Regions from separate parts of the Homo sapiens genome. Here all the other regions are linked to region 2. The links are contacts of gene promoters, found by promoter capture Hi-C in blood cells and fetal thymus (Javierre and others, 2016). All regions are on one chromosome and are shown on one strand. Each heading gives the region's core, a stretch centred on a gene start or on the middle of the fragment in contact. The rest is flanking DNA. Distances are from core to core; before and after follow the strand shown. Region 1 overlaps LOC124903315 (a long non-coding RNA gene). Region 2 holds the start of RTRAF (RNA transcription, translation and transport factor). Region 3 has its middle 9.2 kb from the start of TMX1. Region 4 overlaps LINC00519 (long intergenic non-protein coding RNA 519). Region 5 holds the start of PSMC6 (proteasome 26S subunit, ATPase 6). Region 6 has its middle 27 kb from the start of LINC02310.

Region 1 (4,613 bases), core at 1,385-3,884, 700 kb before region 2:
ATATCTTTAAAATCTTCGGGCCATAGAGTTGGGGAGAGTACAGAAAGAATACCACAGAACTTTTATGCCAGAAAATGGCAGGTGCTCCAAGGGCTATGTTGGAATGCTTGGAGTGCATAAAAATACCAAGGTGAGTGCCTAGCAGAGGGTTCTCAACATTAGACCTAAGTCATAAACTCCAAAGGTTGTTTTCAGGAATCTGTACTTTTAAAAGTTCTGAAGATGCATCTGGGGCCAGGATGAGGGCCACTGGTCTGACATAAAGAGGATGGGCTCTGCTTAGTTCCATAAATTCAGGGAGTTAATTATGTTGTTTTAAATTTCTTGAACCATTAGCACAGGGCTGATGAGCCAAACACCTTTTATGTTTGAATCAATAGATGTTTCTTCCCATGTCTTTGGGAATATTTCACAGTAGAAGTTGGGGTCTTGAAAAGTTGGCATTTGAAGGCTAGTGTTATTTTTTGCTTACAAAATAAGAAATTGATCTTTGGAAAGCAATTTAGGAATCTTATTTGGCCACAGTGGCATTGAGACCACTCTCTTTCTCCCTTTAAGCTTCATTATAACTCGAGTCCATTGCATAAAGCTCTTTTTATTGTAAAATGAGACCCCCATCAGGATCCTATAGACAGTTTTATTTCCTCTTGTTGCTTTCGGTACTCCCATACCATATTTCTGTAAAGGGCAACCTTACATTGAGTTTGGCATTGCTGGGTAGGCATTGCTGTCTTCAGGAGCCTTCTTCAGCTCATTTCTTTTTTGTTTGTTGCTCATAAAATAGCAGGCATCTGTGCACCAAGCTGATGTATTCATTGGTCCATGTACCTTTTAGTCCTTGTGTGTACATTTAGGTTGTACAGACTTACAGTAATATTACTGCTAGAATTCTATTATATATCTCTTCCATTTATATTATGCCATGAGTTTTTTTTTGGAGACAGGGTCTTACTTTGTTACCTAGACTAGAATGCAGTGGCATGATGATGGCTCACTGCAGCCTTGACCCTCCCAGGCTCAAGCAATCCTCCCACCCCAGCCCCCCAAGTAAGCTAGAAGTACAAGTGTGTGCCACCACGCCCAGCTAATTTTTAAAAATTTTTGTAGAAACAGGGTCTCACTGTGTTGCCCAGGCTGGTATTGAACTCCTGGTCTGAAGCAGTCCTCTTATTTCAGCCTCCCAAAGTGCTAGGGTTACAGGTGTGAGCCACTGCTCCTAGCCCAAGTATTTTTCAGATCAACTTTACTGAGTATAATTTACATATAATAATAAACTAGTACAAATGATTGTACAAGTGGTTGAGGTTTTACAAATGTATTCATCTTGTAACTATTACCAAAATCAAGACACCAAATAGTTTTATTACCCCAGAAAGTTCCCTCATACCCTACTATGGTTAATCTCTCCTTCCATTTTTGGCCCCAGGCAACCACTGATATGCTTTCTGTCACTACAGATTAGTTTGCATTTTCTAGAATGTCACACAAATGACATCAGACATAGTTATGATTTTGTGTCTCAGTTTTTTTGCTCAGCAGAATATTTTCACATGTAAATATTTTTCATTTTGCTCATCTTTTTTCCATACCTAATCTTTCTACCACTATCACCATGACTGCTTTTTTTTTTTTTTTTTTTTTTTTTTTTTTTGTGACAGAGTCTTGCTCTGTCACCTAGGCTGGAGTGCAGTGACATGATCTCAGCTCACTGCAAACTCCGCTCCCCAGGTTCAAGTGATTCTCCTGCCTCAGCCTCCTGAGTAGCTGGGATTACAGGCACGTGCCAGCATTCCCAGCTGATTTTTTTGTATTTTTAGTAGAGACGGGGTTTTGCCATGTTGGCCAGGCTGGTCTTGAACTCCTGACCTCAGGCCTCCCAAAGTGCTGGAATTACACTTTGTTGCTCATAAAATAGCAACAAACTGTGCCCAGCCACCACTACTGCTTTCTTAAATCAGATAACTTAAGCTTGATATGTATATTTCCAGCCCTCTATCAATATTCCTACAAACATATACACATACAAGGGAGCCTAGGTGATTTGGTCTGTAAAAGTCATCCTTACAAGATACAAAATAAGATGGCAAAGGGAGGGCAGAGAATGGATTTGGAGGGGCAAAGGGAAAATAATCAACAGAGGTAGGTAGGTATTTCTGTTTAACAGATGAGAAAACTGGGAAACTCAGAAGGATCCTACAGTTAGTCAATGGCAAACCCAGCATTCCAACGCAACTCTTCTGACTCCAAATCTCATCTCTTATTTCCCTCCAAGAGGGTTTTTTGCTCCATAAAATTTTGAAGGCCCTGAGGGCAAAGAAATATAGGGCCTGGAAAAAAGGTAATGTTAGTGATGAGGATAATGATAATGATGATGATGGTGCTGATGGAGGTAATGATGATGATAGTGATGATGAAGATGGTGATGATGGCAGTGATTATGATGGTGATTGTGATGGTGGTACTTTAAAGCAATGATCCCCAACCTTTTTGGTACTAGGGACCAGTTTTGTGGAAAACAGTTTTTCCATGAACCAGAGTTGGGGATGGTTTTGGGGTGATTCAAGTGCATTACATTTATTGTGTACTTTATTTCTATTATTATTGCGTTGTAATATATATGATCAAATAATTATACACCTCACCATAATGTAGAATCAGTGGGAGCTCTGAGCTTGTTTCCTACCACTAGATGGTCCCATCTGGGAATGATGGGAGATAGTGACACCCAAAGTGTGTTGGTTATGTCCAGTCTACTCCATAATCTCGTTTGGGTTGCTGTCACTGCAGAAAACCCTGCTTCACAATGATAGAAAGTTGGAAATGGAAGGAGGATTTTCAGTGCTTTTATGGCAATCTCAGGACATTCCAACTTGACTTTAATCCAAAAGATACGGAGATTTGAAGTTGTCTCAAATGTGCTTTTAAGGCCACCAGATGCAGTTGTACAATTGAAGGACATCAACTCACTTGTTGCTATAAAGTCTGCCACCAGATGTAGCTTGTCACTTGCCACTCACTGATTTGATAGGAGTCTGCAAGTAATTGATTTATTATGGTCTCTGTGCAGTCAAACCTCCCTGCCAATGTTAATCTGTATTTGCAGCCACTACACAGCACTAGCATCACCACCTTAGGTTATCAGGCATTTGATTCTTCTAAGGAGCATGCAACCTGGATTCCTCACATGCGCAGTTGACAATAGGGTTCATGCTTCTGTGAGAATCTAATGTTGCAGCTGATCTGACAGGAGGCGGAGCTCAGGTGGTAATATGAGCAATGGAGAGTGGCTGTAAATACAGATGAAGCTTTGCTGGCTTGCCCCTCATTTCCTGCTGTGCGGCCTGGTTTCCAACAGACCATGGACCAGCGCTGGTCCATGGCCTGGGAGTTGGGGACCCCTGCTTTAAAGAACACCCAGATCCAGGGAAAGCTGAAGGTAACAGAAAATAAAACCCCCCCTTTCCACAGTGCTTTCACCTGTTTTTTTCTCATTTCATCCTTACTACAATCCTGTGTGATGTGTATTATGATCATTCCCATTTTAGAGAACTTGAATCCAAAGCAATTTTTCAACAATGAGCAAGAGAAGCAGGTGATAAACATTTATTCTGCTTTTTATATTCCTAGTGTTTGTAAAAATCAGTTCCAAGTCTTTTAATGGCACGTTAGGCTTTCAATAAATTTGGTAAAAATCACCAATTTTTCATGCTTAAAAGCAAATTTTGTTCATGCCAAGTTACTGCTAAACTGTTGAGAAGGAATGAATTGAAGTATATTAACTTAGAGGGATTTCAGTTTTATTGTCACTATTATCTTTAGATGGGGAGATGAAGATGCAGATAAAGGCATATTAGTAGGTCCCATTTTGATTAAATATATGTTAAACATTCCTTCTTAAGCTATGGTGACCAGCCGGTAGGGAGAGAGAAAGAAGTCAGGGGGTTTCTTCCCCCATCTCTGCCCCCTTCCCTCCTTGCTTGGCTGGGGTTTAAGCAGATGGCCACAGATCCTGCTGGGCAGCCCCTCTCCCACAGCCATGTCCCTAATGGCCCTGACAAGGTTCCCATAACATCATCCCTTCTTCTTGCCCCTTAGACTTAGGGGCAATAATTGCTTCCTGCTGTTCCTGGTTGCTGATTGTTTTACCATTCCCTTTACCCTGCCCATTACTAAGCTGATATTGCTCAGCTCCTCACCACCCTTTTTTATGCCCTGCTTTTTGGTACTGGGCTGTGATGTTCCAAAAGACATCCCTCTTTGTCAGCAGCTCTCTGTCGGTTCTGCCAATATAGGGTGCTGTGGGGAGCCTGCAAGACTGGAGGGAGGAGCAGGGACCCATTCCTCCTTTTGCTTGTGCTTCCCCTTAGACTATCCTCAGCAGCCATCCTTCCTACAGCAGCCTTGGGATGCAGCCTCCCGTGTTTTTCTGGCACTCTCAGGGCCGTCCTTGTGCTTGCTCTCAAGGACCTGTAATAACCGGGCAGCCCCTCTTCAGAGGCCTCAGACCCACATCTGCTGCCCTGCTCCGAGCTTCTGGGTGACAACACTAAGCTCTTCCCTTTGTTTCCTGGCCCGAGTGGTGCTAGCCTGTCCTTCACAGTTGCTTTTCTGTG
Region 2 (4,678 bases), core at 262-2,761:
TCTCACTATGTTGCCTAGGCTGGTCTCAAACTCCTGGGCTTGAACTATCCTCCCACCTCAGCCTCCCAAAGTGCTGGGACTACAGGCATGAGCTTCTGCACCTGGCCTGTACTTCTTTGTAGTACATTTTATATTTCTTGTAATTCACTTACTCTTTCTAACTCCAGATTATAAGTATTTATTTACACATCTATATTTGTCATTATACTTAAACTTCCTGAAAATAGAGACTGTAGTTTACTCATTTGTATGCTCCTCAGATCCTAAGTGTTTAATTAAAATCTTAATTAATGAAATGAAATGAAACGTACATAGTTGGCTTACCCCCAAGAATTTCAATAGCTCCCCTTAGCTTGCCATGAGAGGCTTTTCCTTATCAGAGCCCTGCCTTTGTCTATAGTCTTATCAGCTGTCATTCCCTCTCACCCTCCAGCCCCTATAAGCTCTAGTCCCTCTGGGCCATGCTGTTGCTCATTTCTTGCCTTTATACATCCTCTTCCCTCAAACTAGGTTACCCTTTTGACTGCATGGTGAATGCCTCACCATCTTCAAGCCTTAGTTTATACTTATCTGTTTATTGTTTCCCTCATTAGCCTTTTAAACTCCATGAAAATAGGGGCCTGGTCTGTCTTGTTCACTGCTCTCTCTCCACTGTCTGAAAAGCAAGTAGAGACTGGATCAGGAAAGATCTTAAATACAATAAGGAGTTTTGATTATTTCTAGGGGGTAACCAGGAACCACTAAAACATAAGCAGAGAAAGTTATGTACAGGTTTTTGCTTTAGAAAAATCTCTCTCATCGCTGTATGGAGGAATGGTTTGGAGAACGCAGGACTGGCCCTAAGAAATCAATCAGATAATTAGAGTAAGCAAAAGTGATGAGGATCTGATCTGTGGCTGTATCAGTGGGGTCCGAAAGGAGGTGAGGGATTTGAGAGTTAGGAGAGACAGAATGGCAGGAATTGGTGACCTACTGGATGCTGTGACCGAGGGTGAGGGGGAGTGAGGGACGATCTCGGCTTCAGATTTCACTCTGGCTGAGGATATCTGGAACGATCGCATCGTATTAACAATTGTATGTTTACCTGTGGATCACTCCCAATTAGTCTGAAAGCATCTTACTATAGGGACCTTGCTTTGTAGTCTTTGTATTACCAGTGTTAGAAGAGCACCTGTTATGTAGGAGGAGTAATAAAATGAATGAATGCACTCAAAACACTAAACAGTAATTCTGTAATCCAACGGGAGGTACAGCGAATACCAAAAGCCTACATATACTATTCTCTGCATGCTATAGCAAGAAAGAAAGGAAAGTGGCTTCCCGGTGGTTTTCTGCCTATTGTACAACCAGGAAGCTGACAATAAAGTTTATTTGAGCGTCGACGTGCGCCGACGTGGCCCCGCCTCCCCAGCCGGAGCCGCGATTGGTGGGCATTTGCCGGCGGCCACCGCTTTTAAGCCACGATTGGCGAAGGCCGCCGTCATTTCGGAGCGACTCAGCGCCTGCCCGCCCTCTCGCCGCGTCGCCGGTGCCTGCGCCTCCCGCTCCACCTCGCTTCTTCTCTCCCGGCCGAGGCCCGGGGGACCAGAGCGAGAAGCGGGGACCATGTTCCGACGCAAGTTGACGGCTCTCGACTACCACAACCCCGCCGGCTTCAACTGCAAAGGTGAGGCGGCGGCCTCAGCCCGGCCGCGTGTCCCTGACCTGGGCGGAGGTCCCAGCCTCAGTGCCCGCACCCCACCTCCCCGTCGGGACCCTCGGCGGCCTGGTTTCCGCCGGCAGCCTCCGGGCCCCTCTCCTCTGGGTCGCCACGTACCTCGGCTCTTCGCCGCCCCTTCCCGCCTTTAAAGCCCTCTCACCTACTCCTGTCTCGGCATGTTACTTTCTGCACTTGCTTAACTCCAAGCATCACGTAACTACCTTCTCTGTACATAAAAGGGAGAGCATTCGTCTTTCTCACTCACTATTCAACTCCATGGTTCCCTGGGTAATTAGGCGATACCTTGAGCACCTGCTAATTATGGGCCAGCGCGGTGCTGGATTCTGAGGAAGGTGCTGAGTAACTTGAAGACTAGTTCACTGCCTGCCAGGAGCTAAAGGGACGAGGGGTGGAAGCAATCAGAACCCACTGAGCAGTTTGAGACAGTACACAATGAAATCAGGACCGATCACAGTGGGAGGGTAAGCGCGTGTAGTAACGGGCTAGTTGTGTTATGTGGTGTTGCAAAAAAGTTAATAGCAGATGAGTGGGAAGGTTGAATTGTGAATACAAAGGTATTTGGGATTTTACAGCATTAGAATTTTAAAAAGTAATAACGTTGCTACTCACTGTAACTAAACTGCTACCCACCACTACTCGTTTCCTTTGTATAGTTGTGGCCTGTGATAGACTGGTAAGTTTGAAAGTGATCAAGTATAACTTGTGATACTCAGACCACTGTGTAATTCTCAAGACCTTATAATGGAAGCTTGAATTTGACTCACAAATTGAAAATAATTTCTAAGCAGGATGACAGTGTTTTGTTGATCGCCTGTAGAAGCATATCAAATTATAATCTATTGTTTTTCTACTTTAACAAAAAAGTATCAGTGACAATAGAGCCTTGTTCTGGATTGGAATCTTTGAGTCTCAATGTTCTTATCTGTAAAATGGGATATTACCTACCTCAAAAGAGGTATGGGGAGGATTAAACGAAACAATTATGCACTTAATGTGCAGTTAACATTCCATGACAACAGTTGTCACAGTGTCTTTTTTGTCATTTAATTTCTTTTACTTATTATTTTGTTGTATATTTTACTTTATTACTTTGCTATAAATTTAACCTTGCCCTCCTTCCCCTTTCTGTCCGCAAAGGAACTGGAATATTAATATGTAACACTTAAATAGCAAAACTATGTGCCAGGCACTGTTTTTATCCGTATTTATTTTATTTAAGAAACTTCTTAAATAAAACAACTTCTTTTAATCTTCATAACTCTATGAGGTAAGTTCTATTAGCACCCTCATTTTGTAGCTGAAGAGTCTGAGGCACAGAAAATGTGGGTGATTATCCCAAGTTCACACAACCAGTAAGTATCTGGACCCAGGATTTGAACAGATCATTGTTAATCTGTACTTTCAACTCCAGAATCTGTACTTTCAACTCCCTCTTTTGGTTCAATTAATTTAGTATTTTGAAGTTAAGAAAATTCCACAAGAACATATATCTGAACATATACCTGAGAAGGAGGTATTTTATGTAGTGCTTCTAGTTATTTATGTGATATTTTTTATTGCAGATGAAACAGAATTTAGAAACTTCATCGTTTGGCTTGAAGACCAGAAAATCAGGCACTACAAGATTGAAGACAGAGGGAATTTAAGAAACATCCACAGCAGCGACTGGCCCAAGTTCTTTGAAAAGGTAATGAATTAGGAAGTAAAGTAAAAATACAGAGAGTTTGTCTGAAAAATCATGAAGATGAGCTTAAAATTACTTTCTTCTTTTAAGAAAAAAATGATAATGATCAGTGTTAGGAAAGCTGGATTTCAGGGATTTTGCTTTTTTCTTAGATGTGTCTTTTGCTTTTAGAGCAAATTATTTTATGTCTTCCTACCAAGCTTTCAGTATTAGGTAGAAATAGTTTTCTCTAGAAACATGAAGTTTCTTAAATAAATAATGATGTAAATATTTCGCTTTCCCTTTATGGCCCAAATCAGAATTTTTGTTAAACACAGTACTATTTCTTATATTAAAAGAAGACATTGGCTAGGTGTGATGGCTAACACCTATAATGCCAGCACTTTGGGAGGCTGAGGTGGCAGATCATTTGAGCTCAGGAGTTCTGACAGCAGCCTGGGCAACATGATGAAACCCTGTCTCTACAAGAAAATAGAAAGTTATCTGGGTGTGCTGGCCTGTGTCTGTAGTGTCAGCTAATTGGGAGGCTGAGGTTCTCCAGCCTGGGCGACAGAGTGACACCTTGTCTCAAAAAAAGACATTATTGAGATGCTTGAAAACCAAGACTGTCGTGTTTATGCTTATATTTAATGTAAACAGATATCCCTTGTTGTATGCTAGGGAAATAGTCCTTAAATGATCTCTGGTATATCATATTTTTGTGCCTTGAATCATTTTCCCATTGATTTAGTTTTAGTAACACTTTTGCATAAAAAAGAATTCTCAGATTAGAATAAAAATGCTTTTAGTGTCATTTCTTACATTAAACATTTTCATCAGTTATATTTGATGAGTGAGATATTTTTCTTGAAAAAGGCTAAGTTTTTCATTTGCGAGAGCAGTGTGATTAGGCACTTTCTCCCTAGAATCAGTGATTTTATAAATTAGGGATTGTATAAATTACATCATTGTTATTAACCTTTCCGTGTCTCAATTTTTTCATCAATAAGTGAGGGTAACAATGATACCTATCTCATAAGTGTGGCTTTGTTTTTAATGAGTAATTGTTCACAGAAGTCCCTGGCGCATAGCAAGTGTGATAAGCTTATTACTGCCAATGCCTCTATACTACTACTATTAATACTACTGTATTCTTTTCCTTTGCTCTTAGAAAATATTTTTAAAATTTTCAGTGGACTTCTTAAAACTTTGAAATATATTTTTAGGATTTTATGTTTGTTTATATTACATTTTATGGTCTATTCATGTGTACAAGACAGTACAGAATTCTGCAT
Region 3 (4,735 bases), core at 1,668-4,167, 760 kb before region 2:
AGAATTTGAGGCAGCAATAGATAACTAATATATTAAGCTTTTGTAAAAACAGATGGCCCTTATACTATTGGGTCCAAATATTATATACAATGGGAATACTAAAAATCTAAAGCATATTGACTTGTTGCCTTTTTTTAAATGATTAAGTGGTCATTTTCTATACTTATTGAATTTCTAAGACATCTATAATTAATATATGTAACTATAAATTAATATGCAATGTTGTTCTTTATTAACTGCTAATAATCATGGACAGGGAAACAGTACTATCCATGGCCAGATGTGCTCAGATAATGATCCCTGTCCTGGTCCAGTTCAAGCATTTCTTGTCTTGGCTCTGCATCATTTATCATCCACTTCTATGCCTCAGGCCATCTGCATGGGAAGAGCTGCTACTTGTGCCAGAGATTTTAATGCTATGTGCACACAATGCTCGTTCTCCTGAAACTGACCAGACTTCATAATTTAATTCTGATGTCTATAACTTTAGTTTTCTTCCTGCTTTTTTGACAATTACAATCACACATATTAAACTAATCTTGAGCTCCAAATCCCTGTAACTTGCCACATAATTACAGCAGTGATTTAGTAACCTTTCAGATGGCCAAATGTTGTTTATATACTTTAATTCAGGGTTTTAAATGATAAGATCCATTTCAACAGCTAGATTTTTCTCTAGTTATGTTTAAAAATTTTATGCATGAACAAGAACATTATAAAATATTTAAAGCTTCTTTGAAGTTAAATTTTAAAGCCAATCTCATAAATTCAAAATGACCCTTACTTTTGTCTTTCTGCATCTAGATGGGAGAGGACTAGTCAATAATCCTAATCTTGGCCTACGGAGCTGTGAGATTGTCTGAAGAGCCATGTCCTTTTGTGATGACACATGGCGTCATACTTCTCCAATTGTGTTTTGTTTCTAGTTTTAGCGATAGTCTTTTGCTGCCACTAACTATATATATGAAAGGATTTCTTTTCCAAGCTGATATACAAAAGGCTTTCCCCTTTCAGGATATCAGTGATACTGTTTACTACAATATCTGTGAGATAATATCTTTTCTCTTATTCATCTGTAATTATAAACATACATGAAGATTTTTTCGCATACATGTTGGAAAAAGGTCCCACTTTTCAGTTCATTCCATGTGATGAAGTACCTAGAGTAGGGTTCCAGAATGTAGGAACTTTTTTTTTAAATTTGAGACAGGGTCTCACTCTGTCATCCAGATTGGAATGCAGTGGCACGATCTCGGCTCACTGCAACCTCTGCCTCCCAGGCTCAAGTGATTCTCCTGCCTCAGCCTCCCGAGTAGCTGGGATAACAGGCACACACCACTACCGCCCAGCTAATTTTTGTATTTTTAGTAGAGATGGGGTTTCACTATGTTGGCCAGGCTGGTCTTGAACTCCTGACCTCAAATGATTCGCCTGCCTCAGCCTCCCAAAGTGCTGGGATTACAGGCATGAGCCACCGTGCCTGGCCTGTATGAACCATATTTCTAATTCTTAAAATATATTGCCAAATTATTTCCAAAAGTGCTGTTCTGATTTATCAGGCTAATAGTCATGTTTTGTTTGATGACTAGTGTTCCAAGTATCGGTTACCTTCTAAATTTTAAAAACTTAAAAGGTAAAAGAAATCTATACTTTCCATTTACGTTTATGTTATAAATATACAGAAAAATTTCATTACATTGACTTTATATATGTATGTATATATGACTTAATATATGTGTCTGTGTGTCTGTGTGTGTATACATACAGAGACATTGATGTCTGTTGAGTTAAGCACATAGAACTTCTATGTTTTTATGTAATCTTGGTGTCTCTAACTCTTTGGGCTATAGATTTAATTAGCCTGCAGAATCTGGTAATACCAATGACCTATAGGTACTGAAGAAACAATGATAAACATGATAGACACAGTTCATAATCTGGAGTCACAATCCTGTGGGGGAGACACAAGTAAGTAGGCAAATACAATACAGTATACTAAATGTGAAGTTAGAAGTTCAGGGTTCAGAGAGTGTACCAGGGAAGACATCATACCCAAACTAATTGGCTTAGGAAAGACTTTCTGAAGAAAGGGATACATAGGTAAAATCTGAAGATTGAATAGTTATGTGGCAATGAAGCAGGGCAGTTGGGGAATGAGGGGAGCAGTATACCTTCCACAAAAACCTAGAAGAGAAAATATAGCTTGGTCAAGGTACTGTAAGAAACCTAGTATGACTTTATCAGACAGTACAAAAGAGGTCAAAAACTGAGGCTTGGTCATTAGAAAAGGCCAGATACAGTATGATTTTGGAGACTATATTAAGAAAGTTGAACTTTATGCTAAGGATAATAGAAAGCATGTTACCTAGCCATTAAACAGTTTTAAGTAGGGGATGACATGGTCAGCCTTGTGTTTCAGGAATACCACTTTGGTTTTAGACAGGAAAATATACTTGGTGAGCTGGGAGGATGCAAGTATAAAAGCATTGAGACTAGTTAAGAACCTTGCATGTTGTAATAATCCACATGAGACAAGATGATGGCTTGGGTTGGGCTTCCAGATGGCAGTGTAGACCCATCCCAGCAAAACAAGCATAATTGGTTGTATGAGTTTGCTGGGGCTGCCATAACAAAGTACCAAAAACTGGGTGGCTTAAACAACAGAAATTTGCTTTCTCATAGTTCTGAAGGCTAGAAGTTTGAAATCAAGATTTTGACAGGGTTGGTTTCTTCTGTGGTGTTTCTTTTTGGCTTGTAGATGGCAATCTTCTCCTTGTGTCTTCACATGGTCTTCCCTCTGTACTGTACAAGTCTGTTTTCTAATTTCCTCTTCTTACAAGGATACCAGTCATTCTGGATTAGGGCTCACCCTAATGACCTCATTTTAACTTACTTGACTCTTTACAGACCCTATCTCAAAATACAGTTACACTATGAGTTACTAGAGGTTAGGACTTCAACACATGAATTTGGAGGGGGCACACAACTTCATCCCATAATACTGTTGAAAACTATAAAAACAAAAACAACCATCTAAAGTCTGTGGAAATTGTCCTAAGGGCATACAGCAAATGAAGAAGCATTCTTTTTTTTCAAGAAAATCCACTAAAACTGAGTAAGAACAGTAACAGTCTATGGCGTCTGAGCCATACACTCGATTCCTACCCATCTTCCTCACCCCCTGAGCTCATCTTGGTCAAAACTCTACTCTGGGTGAGTGTGACCAAGAACATAGGGCTCCCTGTCTCCTCAACTCTCAATCAAGAGAGGCAATATCTCACCAGGAGGAAAAGGCCACCAGCATTTTTCATCCATTCCAACTCTGAGTTGCAAAGGCTAAATTCCTGGTAAGTGTGGCCCCATACAGGGGACAAAAGTTCTATGCCAGGTGCAGCAGAGTGAGAACACTGGGAACTCCAATCACCCTTAACCCAGCTTGCTCATATGGCAGAGGTTCCACTTCAGAAGCAAGTCAAGAAGATCAGAGCCTCCTGTTCTACCCAGTGCCCAGAATAATAACTAAGCAATTTTGCCCATGAGTAGACGCAGCCCATAAAAACAGAGAGCCCTGAAGCTCTCCCCAGAGGACTTACCTTTATTTGAAACAGAGTGTGGGTGATGGTCAAGCCTCGGGTTGCTCTAAAAAAAACAATAGTTTCCTGTAATAAAAAGCAACAAGCTAAACCATAAGCTAGCTAGTTTACCAGAGAGAACCAGGGAAGGAGACAACTAAGAAGAGCCCTCTTGAGGTTAGAGGAAACCTCCAAGACTGGCCTCAAAAACTACCAATGCCTGAATTTTATTGGATTAGACTGTGGAGCAATTTATGCCCCAGGGGGTATCTTCTTAAACAGAGAAATCATCCTACACTTAGTGTAGCACAACAGCTAGAGGTAACACCAAACGAGACAGAAAGTTTAACAGAGAGATCAAGGAAAGAGACAGTCAAAGAGAGCCTTGCTAGAACCACTGATATCCCCTGGTGACGGTGCACATGTCCAAGGCTGCACTCTCTGAGAAATGGGAGCAGAGGCCTTCCGCTACTGGAGAAATAGACTTCACCAAAATAGCCTAGCCAAGTCACTAAACAAACCACAATCAAATAAAAACAAAAGACAAGTCCAAACCATATAGAGGGAATCAGTACTCAGAATTGCTATAATGTATTACCTAAAATGTCCAGTTTTCAATGAAAAAATTGTCATGCAGCGAAATAGCAAAGTATGACCCATAGATCAGAGAAAAAAGTAGGCAACAGAAACTACCTGTGACAGAGCCAAAATGTCAGATTTAACAAAGATATCAAAGCATTCATTATAAACATATTCAACAAACTTAAATAAATCGTGCTTAAAGAACTTAAAGGAAGGTATGATGACAATGTTGCATCGAAAAGAGAATATCAATAAATAGAAATTATTTTTAAGAAGCACCAAATGGAATGTCTAGAGTTAAAAAGTACAATAACTGTAATAAAAAAAATCACTACAGGCGCTCACCAGTAATTTGGAGGCAGAAGAAAGAATCTGTAAACTTGAGATAGATTCACAGAGATTATGCAATCAGAAGAACGGAAGAAAAAAGAATAAAGAAAAATGAGCAATAAATGTGGGACACCATTTAGTTTACCAACATATGCTTAACGAGATTACCAGAAGGAAAGGAGGGAGAAAGGAGCAAAAAATACATGGATTTGAAGAAATAATGACTGAAACCTTCATATTTTCCAGAAAAC
Region 4 (4,520 bases), core at 1,227-3,726, 680 kb before region 2:
AGCTGCATTCAACAACAGGGAACCGTTACTCTGCTTCCTCATTCTAGCTCTTCGTCCTCTCTTCCTATTGTGCAAAATGGAGACTTGCTCATGCCAGAAACCAGGAGCTCTCGCATCCATATTCACCCCTCTAAGATTTTACTTCCGAATATATTTCAGTCTATTTACTTCATGCCATTACTATCCCTACCACTCCAGTCTAGGTCACTGCTACCTCTTGCTTGGGCTTCTACAACAGTTCTTCTTACTCCACCATCTCTACACTAACCCTACCAGTTCATTCTTCATACAGCCAGAGTGACTTTCTTAAAATGGAAATTGTGTCACATTGTACCCCCTGTTTAAAGCTCTGAGGGCATTTGAGATAAAATGAAAAAAAAAAAAAATTAAGAGAGGGTCCAAGTCCCATGTGGCCTGCCCATTACCCAACTTCAGTCTCATCTCAAGCAACTTTCCTTTTCATCTACCCTGCTTGATTGATACATGCTGGACTTTGATTTTCTTGAATACTCGAAACTTTCTGATTCAGAGTAGGGAAGACATGGTGTTTCTTCTACTAGAAAGTCCTTCTCCCTCCCCTCTCTGCTGTCTGTCTCTTCCCCCTCTGCATTGTAAGCTCCCTGAGGACAGACCCTAGACTATTGTGCTCATTAATGAATAACCAATATCTATTCATAATAGCACAGTCCTTGGCAGAGAGTAGGTGCTTGCTAAATGAGTGAATGACTATTCCAATTAATACCAAACTTCCTTCATCCCTATAGAAGGACAGAAAGGAGAGGCTGAATATATTTGAAAAAGAAACAAGGCCATATCTTTGCTAGGTCAGCCAAATTGATATTGGGTATTCAGACGAATATTTATCTGTGTCGTTGTAATAACGGACCTTTCTGTGAAATAAAGTCAATCATATTTAAGTGGGTGCTATGATCAGCCCCATTTTGTCTGCGTTGCAATAATTGCCAAGGTTTCTATAAAACTCCTGGAAAGGGTGACCCCTCTGTCTTGATAAAGTGCTAAATCTGTCCATTATAGACAAAGATCTATAATATGTCCATTAAAAAAACACTAAGTACCTTATTAGAAAAGACTGAAATCAAATACATGGAAAATGGCCCCATAACTTAAGCCCACACTTTTATTACAGTTTTTAAAGAGAAGAGTCAACATATTTGTAGAACCATTTCCTATAATACTTTTCAATAAATTATATAATTTGCACTTTTGCTTAGCGGAAATGAAATGTGTTCTGAGAATTGTAAGCCCACATTGAGCTCCTATTTTACTAATTCCCTTTTAATGCATCATCTCAGTGACTCACATTTAGCACCACATCTTACTGGCTAATTATCTCTACTTTTCAGTTTAGCATCCTACTTCATGCTAATTGAGTCCTTACTTGTATTTTGTGGGTATGATTTATCCCAACTATACTGTAAGCTTCTTGTAAACAGGAGTTCATGTATTTTTCTACTTCTGCATTGTAGTTACCCTGTGTAATAGGCAAAGTCATAGAACAGTGAAAAAAAAAAACAACCGACATCTCAGGGGCTTTGTTTCCTACTCAACCTGCATGTCCAATATGGGTCCGCAGGGGAACTCTGACACATCCATCACCCTCATATTCACCCTACTAAGAGTTGTGTTCTCCCAGGGACCCAGGCTAATGAAGGCTTTGTCTTGACACTTCTTTCCCTGATCAAAACAACACTGAGGAGGAAACATGACAAACCCCATAGCTGGATTTTATAGCTCCTGCCAGTGTGTAATACATATCATTCCACATGCATGTCATTGGCTAACACAAGTCACACGGCCATGCCCAACCTCAAAAGTGGTGGGCAAATGCAGCCCTATTGTGTGCCAGGAAAGAAGAGAGTCAAGAATACTGGCAGCTCTGCACTCATGATTCACACTCAGTGCTGCTCAGTTCCAGCTCATGATGGGATTTCTATCATAACTTGTTTCATTGAAGTTTGGAAATGCCTGAAGGAATATATGTGGGCTCAAGGTAAAGAGAAGGCAGTTACTGGTTGAAAAGAAGAAAGTGTGGCTACTGTGTGTTTGTACTCTTTCTTGTTTCAATTTCTAAAATCTGGAAGGGAAAGCCCTAAAGAATATTTCAAAATAAAGGACCCACATGAATACCTGCCTTTATGTAGCCAATAGGTGTGTACTGACTAATCATCTGGTATTCCGCTTGACCTAGTCAACATTTCTGCCAATGATTTGCATGATTGCAGATGTTGACATGCAGAAAACATTTGCATACTATATGAACCTGGAACCAAATTACTGGAATGAATAATTTGGGTGATAGAATTATGATCCAAAGCTGGGATCATGGGCTGGAATAATGGGTTCACTGTAAAGGATAAATGTGTGATGTTTGGGTCTAAAGACCAATTCAATTACAAAACTACAAGATGGCAGAGCTTTGAATAATAGCATATGTAAAAAATCTTCATGATTTTATGTTGACATGAATTGTATTCTTATCTGATGGTGGGATATGGTGGACAAATGAATTAAAGGAATGTCTGTCTGCATGGGAACATGACACCCAGGCCCATGAAGGAGGGGCTCATGAAGTCTGCTCAGGCATTGTGCAGAGCCTTGAGCTAAGTTTGGCCTGTCAGTGCTTGAGGGACCTTGACAGATGAGCCTGCCCAGAGGAGAGTAGTGAGGTTACCAATGGAATGAGAACACTCAAGGAGCAGATGAAGGGGCTAGGCCAGCTTATCCTAGAGAATAGAGACTGGATTGGGGAAATGTGGGATGGGAAGGGCAGCCTTCACATACTCATAGAGCTACCAGGTAGAAGAGGGAATAAACTTTGTCTTGCTGTGGAAGGCAGAGCAAGGATAGATCATAGCACTGATTTTGACACAACGGAGAATAGAACTCTGTGAAGTCCATGTCTGTGTTATTCTGTGTTCTAACCGAACTCTGTGAAGTCTCAGTTAAGTTTCTTCTATGTTATGTCACAGAGAAGATTCATGAATCCAAAGAGTAGAGTGACCAACTTCGTTTACCCAAGACTCAGAGATTTTTCTAAGACTTAGAATCTTCAGTGCTAAAATCAGAAAAATCCCAGGCAAACCTGGAAGAATTGGTCACCCTACCAAAGAAGTTTGCTTTTAATGTTATCTAAGGTCTCAGCCCCCTCAGAGATTCTATGATTTCTAAGATAGATATGTTGATTTTCTCAGAAAAATTTCAGGTAAATGCAGTGATTCTTATACAGTACTTTTGGTTCTCAGTCCCATGCTAATTTAATCATGAAAGACTTTTACATGTATTTTGAGCAATTATTCCACATTTGTGTTTAAGATTTGATCATTGCCAGTAGATTCATGCCCTACAATTGTATCAAATAATCAGGAGAATATTTCCCTGCAAGTCCAAAGTCATTAATTACATAAATGAACATTTTAGAAATACAGAACTGCACCTTTCTTAAGAAACCACAGTGGGTAATTTGATTGTTTGAATGGCCGTTATCCTTAGATGAAGCTTTATGAAGGTGAACGGCAGAACAGGCTGTTCCATCGGAATGAAATTTCACTAGGCTTATACACAATGAAAGAGCTATTTGTGTTCAAGACATCCTAGTAGAAACTTTGTTCCTTTCTTTTAATCATTTATTATATATGGGATTCTGGAATAAATTTATTAAATCAATCTGCAATCTTGAAGATTTGTTCATTTTTTGGGGTTCAATGTTTGTGTATTTAGGAATAAGACCTTCACAAAGAGGTTTTTTAGTTTTCCCTTGGCATTCTTTTTGGTAATATGCCACCTGGCCATTCTAACTGTTCAACTTCAATACAACCATGCGATGGTTTATTGAGGTCTGCCAACTTCCCTAAGCCATTTCCCTTATAGCACACTTGACAAAACCATGTTAATAGAGTCCTACGAGATGAGAAGAGTAACTGGTGAATGGGCTCTATTTTTTAATCTAGTTGGTGATTTATGGAGAAGAGAAAGAGACTCTTCAGGTTTCTGCCTTTCCATCTCATTTCAAGAACAGAAATACATCGAGGTAAGAGAATCATGGCAAGGCTATTGATGTGGCTTAAGGGCAGTGGCAATAAAAAGAGTTTTGACTGAGAGGAAAATAGTGGGAAACAGCTGCTCACTCAAGCCCACTCCACCACATGCTCCCTCCTACTTTGGTTTGGCTTCATGCCTTCTGGGAATTTTCCTTGGATCATGCATCTGACTCTTCTCTCTGCTGTCACACAGAATAACTCTATTCTTGGATCTGTGTTGTTCACTGTAGTTGTTGATGAAAGATTTACTATAAGGCCAGGAAAAAAACCTTGTTGTTCATGATGAATAAAGCCCCAAATGGGTACAGTCTTGGACATTCTACTGCTTAAATTATCAACCATGCAAGAGAGGTATACAATTGTCTTAGCTTCCTGTCTGTATCACTCTGTGTACTGTGGCTATGGTAGCTTTGGAAACTAATTGGAAACAGAAGCAATGCAGTGTAGGATAGTGACACATCC
Region 5 (4,799 bases), core at 324-2,823, 720 kb after region 2:
TTTAGGCACATTATCCTATTTAATACTCATGACAACCCCATTAGATAAGTGCAATTATTATGATCATTTTACAGAGATATTGAGGGAGTATGTAATTTTCCCCAAATCACAAAAATCTGAAAGTTGGCCAGGCGTCGTGGCTCACGCCTGTAATCCCAACACTTTGGGAGGCTGAGGCGGGCGGATCACTTGAGGTCAGTAGTTGGAGACCAGCCTGGCCAACATGGTGAAACCCCATTCCTACTGAAAATACAAAAATGAGCCGGGCGTGGTGGCGGGCGCCTGTAATCCCAGCTTCTCAGGAGGGTGAGGCACGACAATCGCTTGAACCCGGGAGGCAGAGGTTGCAGTGAGCCAAGATCGCACCACTACACTGCAGCCTGGGTGACAGAGTGAGACACAGACTCAAAAAAAAAAAAAAAAAAAAAAAAATCTGGCCGGGCGCAGTGCCTCACACCTGTAATCCTAGCACTTTGGGAGGCTGAGGAGGGTGGATCACCTGAAGTCAGCAGTTCGAGACCAGCATGGCCAACATGGCGAAACCCCGTCTCTACTAAAAATACAAAAATTAGCCGGTTGTGGTGGCGCACACCTGTAATGCCAGCTACTCCGGAGGCTGAGGAAGGAGAATTGCTTGAACCCGGGAGGTGGAGGTTGCAGTGAGCTGAGATCGCGTCACCGCTCCAGCCTGTGCGGCAGGAGCAAGACTCCATCTCAAAAGTAAATAAATAAATACATAAATCTGAAGGTTCTATCAGACTTCAAAGTTCCTGCCTCAGCCTACTTCAGCATCTTTATCTTGTACCCCACATCTCTACAACCCACCCCCTACTGGTCTCATTGGCCTCCTTTCTGTTCCTGGAAGTGAGTCAAGCTTTCTACCCACAACCCCCACCCCACTCCACTCCAGGACTTGCACTGTTTGTTTAGGTTTTCTTCAGTTGTTGCAAGGCTGGCTCCTTCTCATCTCAGATATCTGTTCTAGATTAATTCTTCCCACCATACTTCTCACCGTGTTTTAATTCCTTCACAGTATTTGTTAAACTCTGAAGTTTTTTTTATTATTATTTCCTATCAAATGATAAGCAGATCTACCTTTAATACCTCATTCACTGACTGAATGGATGAATAAAACTGTCTACTTCTCCAGCACGTGGAGGTCTTGGACAGTACTGTGTTATAACAAAGGCCATCTGTGTTGTGTCGACAGGCCATCGGAACTCCTTTGAGGTATTACACATTTCCTACTTCACTTCCATCTCAGTTTATTACAGAGCCTTTTATACTTCCGGGACAGCAGTGACTTAATACTGAGGCCTCTCAGGGGAAGACCGGGATAACTGAGTCCTGCTTTACCTATCTCGGCTTGCAAGAAACGGTATAGGTGGAGGCCTCTTTCAGTGTATGCCGGCGCTCTAGGTGAACCGAGACATAGAGGTGGAAGTGGAGTAGAAAGACGGGGCCAACCGGAAGGGGAGGGCTCATGGGCGAACCCACCCCTCCAGGCAGGGTTTCGCCCCTCGCCCCGCCCCTTCCCCCGCCCGGACGGCCATGGCCATTCCCGGCATCCCCTATGAGAGACGGCTTCTCATCATGGCGGACCCTAGAGATAAGGCGCTTCAGGACTACCGCAAGAAGTTGCTTGAACACAAGGAGATCGACGGCCGTCTTAAGGAGTGTGAGTGCACCTTTCTTTCCATTTAATCAAGTGCCTCGACTCGCTTCTGCCTCTGACAAAGCAGAAGCCTTTCGCCGAGCCCGGCAACCGAGCCTTAGAGATGACCAGGCCTAGGGCCAGGGACAAGGCGCTTTGTCATCCGGCCCTGAGCTTGTGGAGCAGCACTCCTTCGGGTGTAGAAATGGCCCAGTCCAGCCCGGGTGACAGAACATCGGCGGCCTTGAGGTGAAAATGAAAAAGAAGTAGAGGAGGAGTGGGGAAGTGGGCCGAGGATGTTTCCCAGGTTAGGGTGCAAGAAGGGCAGTCTTGGTGGAGTCCCGGGACTTGGAGAGGGGAAGGCGCTTGAGTCAAGTAAGCTCAAACAAGAGATGAGACTCAGGGAGTCGGCTTGTTCTTGGAGTCGAAAGACGGCCGCGGAGCTTAAGAGAGAAGTGTTCCAGTTGTCATAATAACCCATATCGTCTTGTGTTTCGTGTTGTACTGTATCAGGCATACAAATTTCCCTTACCTCCTGAGTGCTTAACTTTTTTTTCCAGTGCATTTTCATTGAAAAGCATGAGTAGTTTAATTAAATGGAGGACCATAATTACATGATTCTGTGGAGAACTGCATTTGTTGACTTTATTTAGGGTAGAATGTCAGAGAACAATCCACGTGGGTAGGTGAAGAGGTGAGGAAGGGTCTAAGTGATTATCATTCGGATTTGTAGTCGCAAATCCTAAGTGTCAGGGTGTCAATATCTTCTAAGACTATAACTTAAGATGTGCTTAAACAAGTATTGCCGATCAACAAAGTAAAAGTATGGTGCTTTCTCTGTAACATTTTGTTGTTATACATGCCACCTACTCATTACAAACAGCATTATTTCTTTTATGGTTTGAAACAGTGGATGTGAAACTTAGGTAAAGTGAAGTAGACTTACGTAAACAGTAAAGTGAGACGTAGCGACTTAAACACACTAAGATTACTGTTCAATTAAAAATGTTCAAATTGTATTATTTCAGTAAGGGAACAATTAAAAGAACTTACCAAGCAGTATGAAAAGTCTGAAAATGATCTGAAGGCCCTACAGAGTGTTGGGCAGGTAGGTGATGGAGTTTGGGGAATAGGGGGTGATGGTAATTTGCTTTTTTATTTAGCTGTTGCCAAAAAGTAATGCTTTTTATTTTCTTCCTTAGATCGTGGGTGAAGTGCTTAAACAGTTAACTGAAGAAAAATGTGAGTGATGAATTAGCTTATTAATTAGTAAAGAAACAGTCCACCTCTCTCTCACTTTTGAAATGCTTATTATTTTAATGACAATAATGCAGAGAGAGAGAGTATTTTTGAATAGACTTAAGTTTTCCTTCAACTAATGTCTCCTTGGAGGACAGAAATACAACTAAACCCTCTGTCAACGTGGGTATGTATTTTTTTACTTTCTATTTTTCAATTAGTTCTTTTATGTTTTTTCTTCTAGTCATTGTTAAAGCTACCAATGGACCAAGATATGTTGTGGGTTGTCGTCGACAGGTAATACTTTATATTTGTATAGTGCCTGATGATTGACAAAGCAGTTTCATGTAAGTTATTGTCTCTAATTCTTGAGGCAAGCAGGTGGAGCATTTATGCCCATAACTCACAAGGATGATTTGTTCAGACATAGCTAGTTATTAACAAAGCCTGAATTCAAACCATGGGCTTTGACTCCTGGCATTCCGTACTTTCTACTGTATTACATTGTCTCAGTCAGATCTGTTAATAGCCACTTAGAAATAAAAGTATTTTAGAACTGGAAAACAGACATTTTATTTTAATGTCATTTTTAAAGAGGACTTAAAAGTGTTAGATATCATCAGTTACCTGTGTTTATATTTAGACATTCAGAACTGTTACTTATGGACTGTACCATGGCCTAAGTTAATTTTGTATGAGGTCATTTAGATTAGGGTAGGGCAAGTTGAAATAATTCTAAATTTTATTTTACAGTTATCAAAGATGCCAACAAATGACCTCAAGTCATTCAGTAGTGTCTGAAATCAATTTATGTATTATTCTTTAGGAAGTGTCCTTAGATAATTCTTTTAAATTCATTGGAAGAGTTTTCTCTGTTTAATTGTCATTTCAGGTTCAGGTTTTAAAACATTCACAGAACATGGCTGTAAGGGAGAATTTAATCCAGGAACTATAAATCTCCTATTAGGATTTTGCCTAGTATATAAGCGGTTGACATTTTCTAAGTCAAAATATTAGATACCTAAACTGACAAGGGATTTTCATGTCCCTTTCAGGGCTCTGTGGATGCCGAAAGTTGGCATTTCTAAGATATTTCAGGTTGCATGAGGACAAGACTGTATTTGAAGACTAAAAAACATTAGAAAAGCCGAAGTATATATAAGTTGAGTATCCCTTATCCAAAATGCTTGAGCCAGAAATGTGTTTTAGATTTTGGCTTTTTTTTTTTCAGGTTTTAGAATATTTGTGTTGTACTGGTTGAGCATCCCTAATTAAAAAAAATCAAAAGTTTGAAATGCTCCGATGAGCATTTTCTTTGAGCATCATGTCAGCATTCAAAAAATTTCACATTGTGGAGCATTTTGGATTTTCAGATTAAGAATACTCAGCCTGTATTTCCTATAGATGTAAACATTGAAATAGCTTCATATTGATTTCTCCTCTTATTTTTTCAAGTAACCTCACTTCTTAGCCGTTTTTTCCTTAATTGTTATATTAATCCTAGTGTTTTGCCTATCTTCCTAAATTTGAAGCTCTTTGTAAAATCCTGTGACAAGTGGTCAGTAATTTATATGATTCCGAAATTGTATTGGCACGCAGTTTTTTAAACTATTAAAAAGTAACTTGGGTCGGGCGGGGTGGCTCATGCCTGTAATCCCAGCACTTTGGGAGGCTGAGGTGGGCAGATCACGAGGTCAGGAGATCAAGACCAGCCTGACCAACATGGTGAAACCCCGTCTTTACTAAAAAATACAAAAAAAAATTAGCCGGGCATGGTGGCACACACCTGTAATCCCAGCTACTTGAGGCTGAGGCAGGAGAATTGCCTAAACCAGGGAGGCAGAGGTTGCTGTGAGCCAAGATGGCGCCACTGCACTCCAGCCTGGGCGACAGAGTGAGACTCCGT
Region 6 (4,377 bases), core at 1,665-4,164, 620 kb before region 2:
TGAAATGTAGTTAATATAAAAAACTAATAATGATTTTTTTCTCAGTAAGACTTTAACATCCAGTGTGTATTTTACACATGTAGAACATCTCAATTCAGTTTAGCCACATTTCAAGGGTTCAATAGCCACATGTGGCTAATGACTGTCATAGTGGACAGTGTAGTTCCAAGTAATAACAGTAATGCTAGTCTATGAAAGATAGGTTTCCACCTCTGGAAAACAAAATGATTGCCCATTTAAAGTAGAAGAGCCAGTTCAGAAGATAATGAGATGTAATTCAGTATTATTTCTTGCTTGCAAACAGCCTCTTAAAATCATCGTGGAAGTTCAATGAAGAGGTAAGATTTAGAAAGTTTGCAAAATTTCTTCCAAAAAGGGAAATGTCTGGGATTTACGTGACAGAGGCAAACCCTTACGTGATGCTATGTTAAGGCATGTAAATGAATACTGTGCTGAGTTTCTCAGCAACCTATGGTGTTGGGAAGGGCTGATCTTCTGATTTTGATCTAGGAAACGATAGGAATATAGTCAATGGCTACATTTTCTTTTTCTCTCTTGGAATCAACCATTATAAAGAGCAGGCATCTTTGGGGATTTTGGTGTCTGCACAGCTGAATCAGCATCGGAATCAGGAATGTGCGAGGATAACATTCTGCGGTTTGGCATTCCTGTCTCAATTCCTCCACTTCTTAGAAAAGAAGCGTCACTCACTGATATTCTCCCAAACCAGCTGTTGAGTATAATAAAGACCTTCCTCTTAGTATTAACATTAGATTGTATTCTTAGGCTCTAATTTTTACCACGGGATTTTTCCCTAAAGAAATTAGAGAAATCACTTAGCCATTGGCATGTGTTAACTGTAACCAGGTCATGTAGCTCTTCTGAGCCTGAGGCAAATAAACAGAAAATCTTAGCGACATGTGCTGAGAACTAGGTTAAACAAATTTCTCAGGATGGGTTGCAGAATAGTTTGCTGGTGCTGGCAATGAAGTGTAGAGGCACTTAAGAGGGATGATTTTTCTCGCTTTTTACCAAAATGTCTTTGCTTCCCTCATAAGCCACTTTCTTCCGAAAGCCAACCATGTTTTTGTTTATTTGTTTGTTTGTTTGTTTGTTTTTTGAGGCGGAGTTTCGCTCTTGTTGCCCAGGCTGGAGTGCAACAGCGCAATCTCGGTTTACCGCAACCTCCGCCTCCCGGGCTCAAGCAATTCTCCTGCCTCAGCCTCCCGAGTTACAGGCGCGCGCCACCACACCCGGCTAATTTGTTTTTTTTTTTTAATTTTTAGTAGAGACGGGGTTTCGCCATGTTAGCCAGGCTGCTCTCAAACTTCTGACCTCAGGCGATCCGCCCGCCTCAGCCTCCCAAAGTACTGGGATTACAAGCGTGAGCCACCGCCCCCGGCCCCGACCATGGTTTTGTAAAGAGAGAACATTGAAAACATAATTGGTCTTTGGTCTATCTAGTTTCTCCATTTTGTACCCTTCTTTCACCTTTGCCAGTAATACTCTTTTCTCTCGGAAGACCCTGGAATGTTTCTCTAGTGTCAAAATTCATCCCAGCTAAGACTTGTGAACTTAACACCAAAGAGTAACCTGTTTATATCACAGTGCAAATTACACAGAACTATCACTCTTCCAGTGCTTTTGTGATAAAGAAATAAAGCACTATCAGAAGAATACCATGCATCCGCTAGGTAGTGAAGATTTTTAAAAAGTGGGCACAAAATTAGAACAAATGGAACCCTGAAACCGCACTACATAGGCAAATAGCTGAGTACAGATTGAAGTTAGAGAACCCTCGAGGGGCTAGGTATGAGTCTGCAATTATGATAGGCGGCCATCAGGGGGCATTTCAGCGCCTTGGTCGTGTGGCCAAAGGATCAGGTTTACCATAATCAGAGAATAAGGTAATTTTTACTTCTTTAAAAATAGAGTAGTTTAAATAAAATTATCAATTAGGGTTTAAAGATGATTCATATGAGCAAGTTCTTAAACCAAAGCCAAGGAAAAAGTGCGCTACCTGCCTCACTATGCGGTTTTCATAATTCAGGGTAGCCTTGCTTATGGCCCTAAGATGTAATAATCATGTTCCTTCTCACTCTGATTTCTTATTTGGGAACCATATTCTTTTATTGGGTTAAGGGAGAACTTTTTTTTTTTTTTTTTTTTTTTGAGATGGAATCTCACTCTGTTGCCAGGCTGGAGTGCTGTGGCACGATCTCAGCTCACCGCAACCTCCAACTCCCTGGTTCAACAGATTCTCCTGCTTCAGCCTCCTAAGGGAGAACTTTTAAAGGGGATTTTCACAATTTCAATAGCCCAGCAGTATCCTCTCACTCTCTTTTCCTTTTCCACTGCTACATGGAATGGAAGGAGCTGCTCGCTGTGTTAAAATGTGGAGATTATTTTGAAAATTTGAATATGAAGAATAAGTGTCTTAAGCCATTCTCTCATTTTTATAAAGAAATAACCTGAGACTGAGTAATTTATAAAGAAAGAGTTTTAATTGGTTCTCGGTTCTGCAGGCTGTACGGGAAGCATAGTGACATCTGGTCCCGGGGAGGCCCCAAGAAGCTTACAATCATTGTGGAAGGCAAAGTGGGAGAAGGTACATCACATGGCAAAAGCAGGAGCAAGAGAGTGAAGGGTGAGGTGCCACACACTTTTAAATGACCAGACCTCCCAGGAACTCACTCATTATCTCGAGGACAGTCCCAAGGGGATGGCACTAAACCATTCATGAGCAATCCACCCCCATGATCCAGTCACCTCCCATCAGGCCCCACCTCCAACACTGGGGATTACATTTCAATGTGAGGTTTGGGCAGGGACCACATCCAAGCTATAACAAGTAGTTACTTTAAAAGAAGTGAAGTAGTCTTAGCTGATATCTGCAAGATATTAGAAGGGCTTTTCAGGTCAAATTACTCTGAGGTTCTCAAGAGAGAAGTCTGACACATATAAGATAAAATGTGTGAGGTTTAATCCATCTGAAACTCTACAGTGCTCCCCTTTGCTTAAAGATTAGGTGTAGATTATTCCATCTAATATGAATGAGTGTAGGACTCACATAGTGGATTAAGTTAATGCTGAGTGGCAAGGTAAAGACATAAAAATAAATCTTAACGTTTGACTCAGGAGATTGCATTTAATTTGGCAGCTAGTAGGAAACCATTGAATGTTTTTGAGTAAGAGGGGTGGCATTCATGCAGTAGTGCTTTAGTGTCAGGGGAAACAAAGGACAGAAAAAGCTCAAAAGCTTGGTGGAAGTGGAATCCATAAAACTAGGTAGCAGATCAAATGTAGAGACTAAAGAAGAAAGATGAGTTAAAGATGACTCTGATGATGAGTAGGAGGATGATAGTGTCCTGAAAGAATAGGGAGGCCAAAAGTTGGAAAGAAATATAAACTTGACCTTCAACATGCAGAGTTGAGAATCAGATAAAAATGTGTATGTGAAGTGCTTTGGAAGGTGCACAGGATCATTGTCATGTAATAATACCATTTAGTAAACACAAGGCAAGTATTTTATGTGTAGGATCTCAGATACAGGCTGTGCCCCCACTGTCAGGAAAATGACCCATAAGTACAGGAGAAAGAACTTCAGGGCAGAGGAAGACTATGTCCTGAGCTTTTTGTTTTGTTTTGTTTTTAATCAGTTGGGGCAATTAAAAGAGGCAATGAGAAAGTAGCAAAGAGAACATAACAAGTGAAACAACAGGAGGTCACTCTAAATAGCCCAACGAGTTGGAGATGACAAGCTTCAATGTGGTAGAAAAGACAATGGGCTTCAAGTAGGACTGGCTGAGTTCAAATTCAGACTCCACAAGTTAACTAGCTGGCTTATGGTGGGCAACTTCACCTCTGCATGCTTCAATTTCTCTATCTGTAAAACGAGGCTATTTAAAGTATCTGCTCATAGAGTTATTGTGAGGATTAAGGGAGATCATACTCGAAAGTGCTAAAAGCAGTGCCTGGAACACCGCCACAACTCAAAAACTGTTAGCTGTCAGCAGTAGTATCATGGAAGTTAAATCAGAGAAAAAAAAATTTAACTATTATTTTAGGTTCGGGGTACATGTGCAGGTTTGTTACACAGGTAAACTTGTGTCACAGGGTTTGCTGTACAGATTATTTCATCACCCAAGTACTAAGCCTAGTACCAAATACCTATTTTTTTCCAATCTTCTCCCTCCTCCCACCCTCCATGCTCCAATAGGCTCTAGTGTCTGTTGCTCCCCAATTTGTGTCTATGAGTTCTTATCATTTAGCTCCCACTTACAAGCGAAAACATGTAGTACTTGGTTTTTTGTTCCTGCATTAGTTTGCTAGGGATGACAGCCTCCAGCTCCATCCATGTTCCTGGAAAATACATGA

What was found. The method cuts DNA at HindIII sites, captures the fragments that hold promoters and counts their contacts. A CHiCAGO score of 5 or more calls a contact.
Region 1: a fragment that was not itself captured here is called in contact with the fragment with the promoter of RTRAF in region 2 in 5 of 17 cell types (endothelial precursors, M2 macrophages, megakaryocytes and 2 more); the score reaches 6.5 in endothelial precursors.
Region 3: a fragment that was not itself captured here is called in contact with the fragment with the promoter of RTRAF in region 2 in 1 of 17 cell types (non-activated CD4 T cells); the score reaches 5.1 in non-activated CD4 T cells.
Region 4: a contact is called between a fragment that was not itself captured here and the fragment with the promoter of RTRAF in region 2, in 1 of 17 cell types (M0 macrophages). The highest score is 5.3, in M0 macrophages.
Region 5: the fragment with the promoter of PSMC6 here is called in contact with the fragment with the promoter of RTRAF in region 2 in 4 of 17 cell types (total B cells, neutrophils, total CD4 T cells and 1 more); the score reaches 7.4 in total B cells.
Region 6: a fragment that was not itself captured here is called in contact with the fragment with the promoter of RTRAF in region 2 in 1 of 17 cell types (M0 macrophages); the score reaches 5.3 in M0 macrophages.

Annotation. Positions count from the first base shown.
Region 1 is chr14:51,287,934-51,292,546 of GRCh38, forward strand. It overlaps LOC124903315 (a long non-coding RNA gene), which reads left to right. Exons shown (of 2, transcript XR_007064164.1): 1 at 1-130. Among named protein-coding and RNA genes, the nearest start is that of LINC00519, 38 kb to the right of the region's middle. The HindIII fragment of the contact is 1,337 bases long and covers 1,967-3,303 here.
Region 2 is chr14:51,988,035-51,992,712 of GRCh38, forward strand. RTRAF (RNA transcription, translation and transport factor) reads left to right here and starts at 1,512. Exons shown (of 8, transcript NM_016039.3): 1 at 1,512-1,666; 2 at 3,283-3,407. The coding sequence starts at 1,606. It overlaps LOC105370497 (a long non-coding RNA gene), which reads right to left and starts at 2,550. Exons shown (of 3, transcript XR_007064166.1): 1 at 2,485-2,550; 2 at 1-655. RefSeq lists enhancers at 1,297-1,591, 1,932-1,991. The HindIII fragment of the contact is 14,873 bases long and covers 1-2,466 here.
Region 3 is chr14:51,228,709-51,233,443 of GRCh38, forward strand. No RefSeq gene overlaps it. Among named protein-coding and RNA genes, the nearest start is that of TMX1, 9.2 kb to the right of the region's middle. The HindIII fragment of the contact is 4,378 bases long and covers 729-4,735 here.
Region 4 is chr14:51,306,415-51,310,934 of GRCh38, forward strand. The region is part of intron 1 of LINC00519 (long intergenic non-protein coding RNA 519); the gene reads right to left. Among named protein-coding and RNA genes, the nearest start is that of LINC00519, 20 kb to the right of the region's middle. The HindIII fragment of the contact is 2,076 bases long and covers 1,439-3,514 here.
Region 5 is chr14:52,705,627-52,710,425 of GRCh38, forward strand. PSMC6 (proteasome 26S subunit, ATPase 6) reads left to right here and starts at 1,574. Exons shown (of 14, transcript NM_002806.5): 1 at 1,574-1,678; 2 at 2,683-2,762; 3 at 2,857-2,896; 4 at 3,138-3,190. The coding sequence starts at 1,594. RefSeq lists enhancers at 1,125-1,234, 1,255-1,314, 1,615-1,864, 1,885-1,934. The HindIII fragment of the contact is 4,351 bases long and covers 873-4,799 here.
Region 6 is chr14:51,368,177-51,372,553 of GRCh38, forward strand. No RefSeq gene overlaps it. Among named protein-coding and RNA genes, the nearest start is that of LINC02310, 27 kb to the right of the region's middle. RefSeq lists an enhancer at 592-1,176. The HindIII fragment of the contact is 685 bases long and covers 2,573-3,257 here.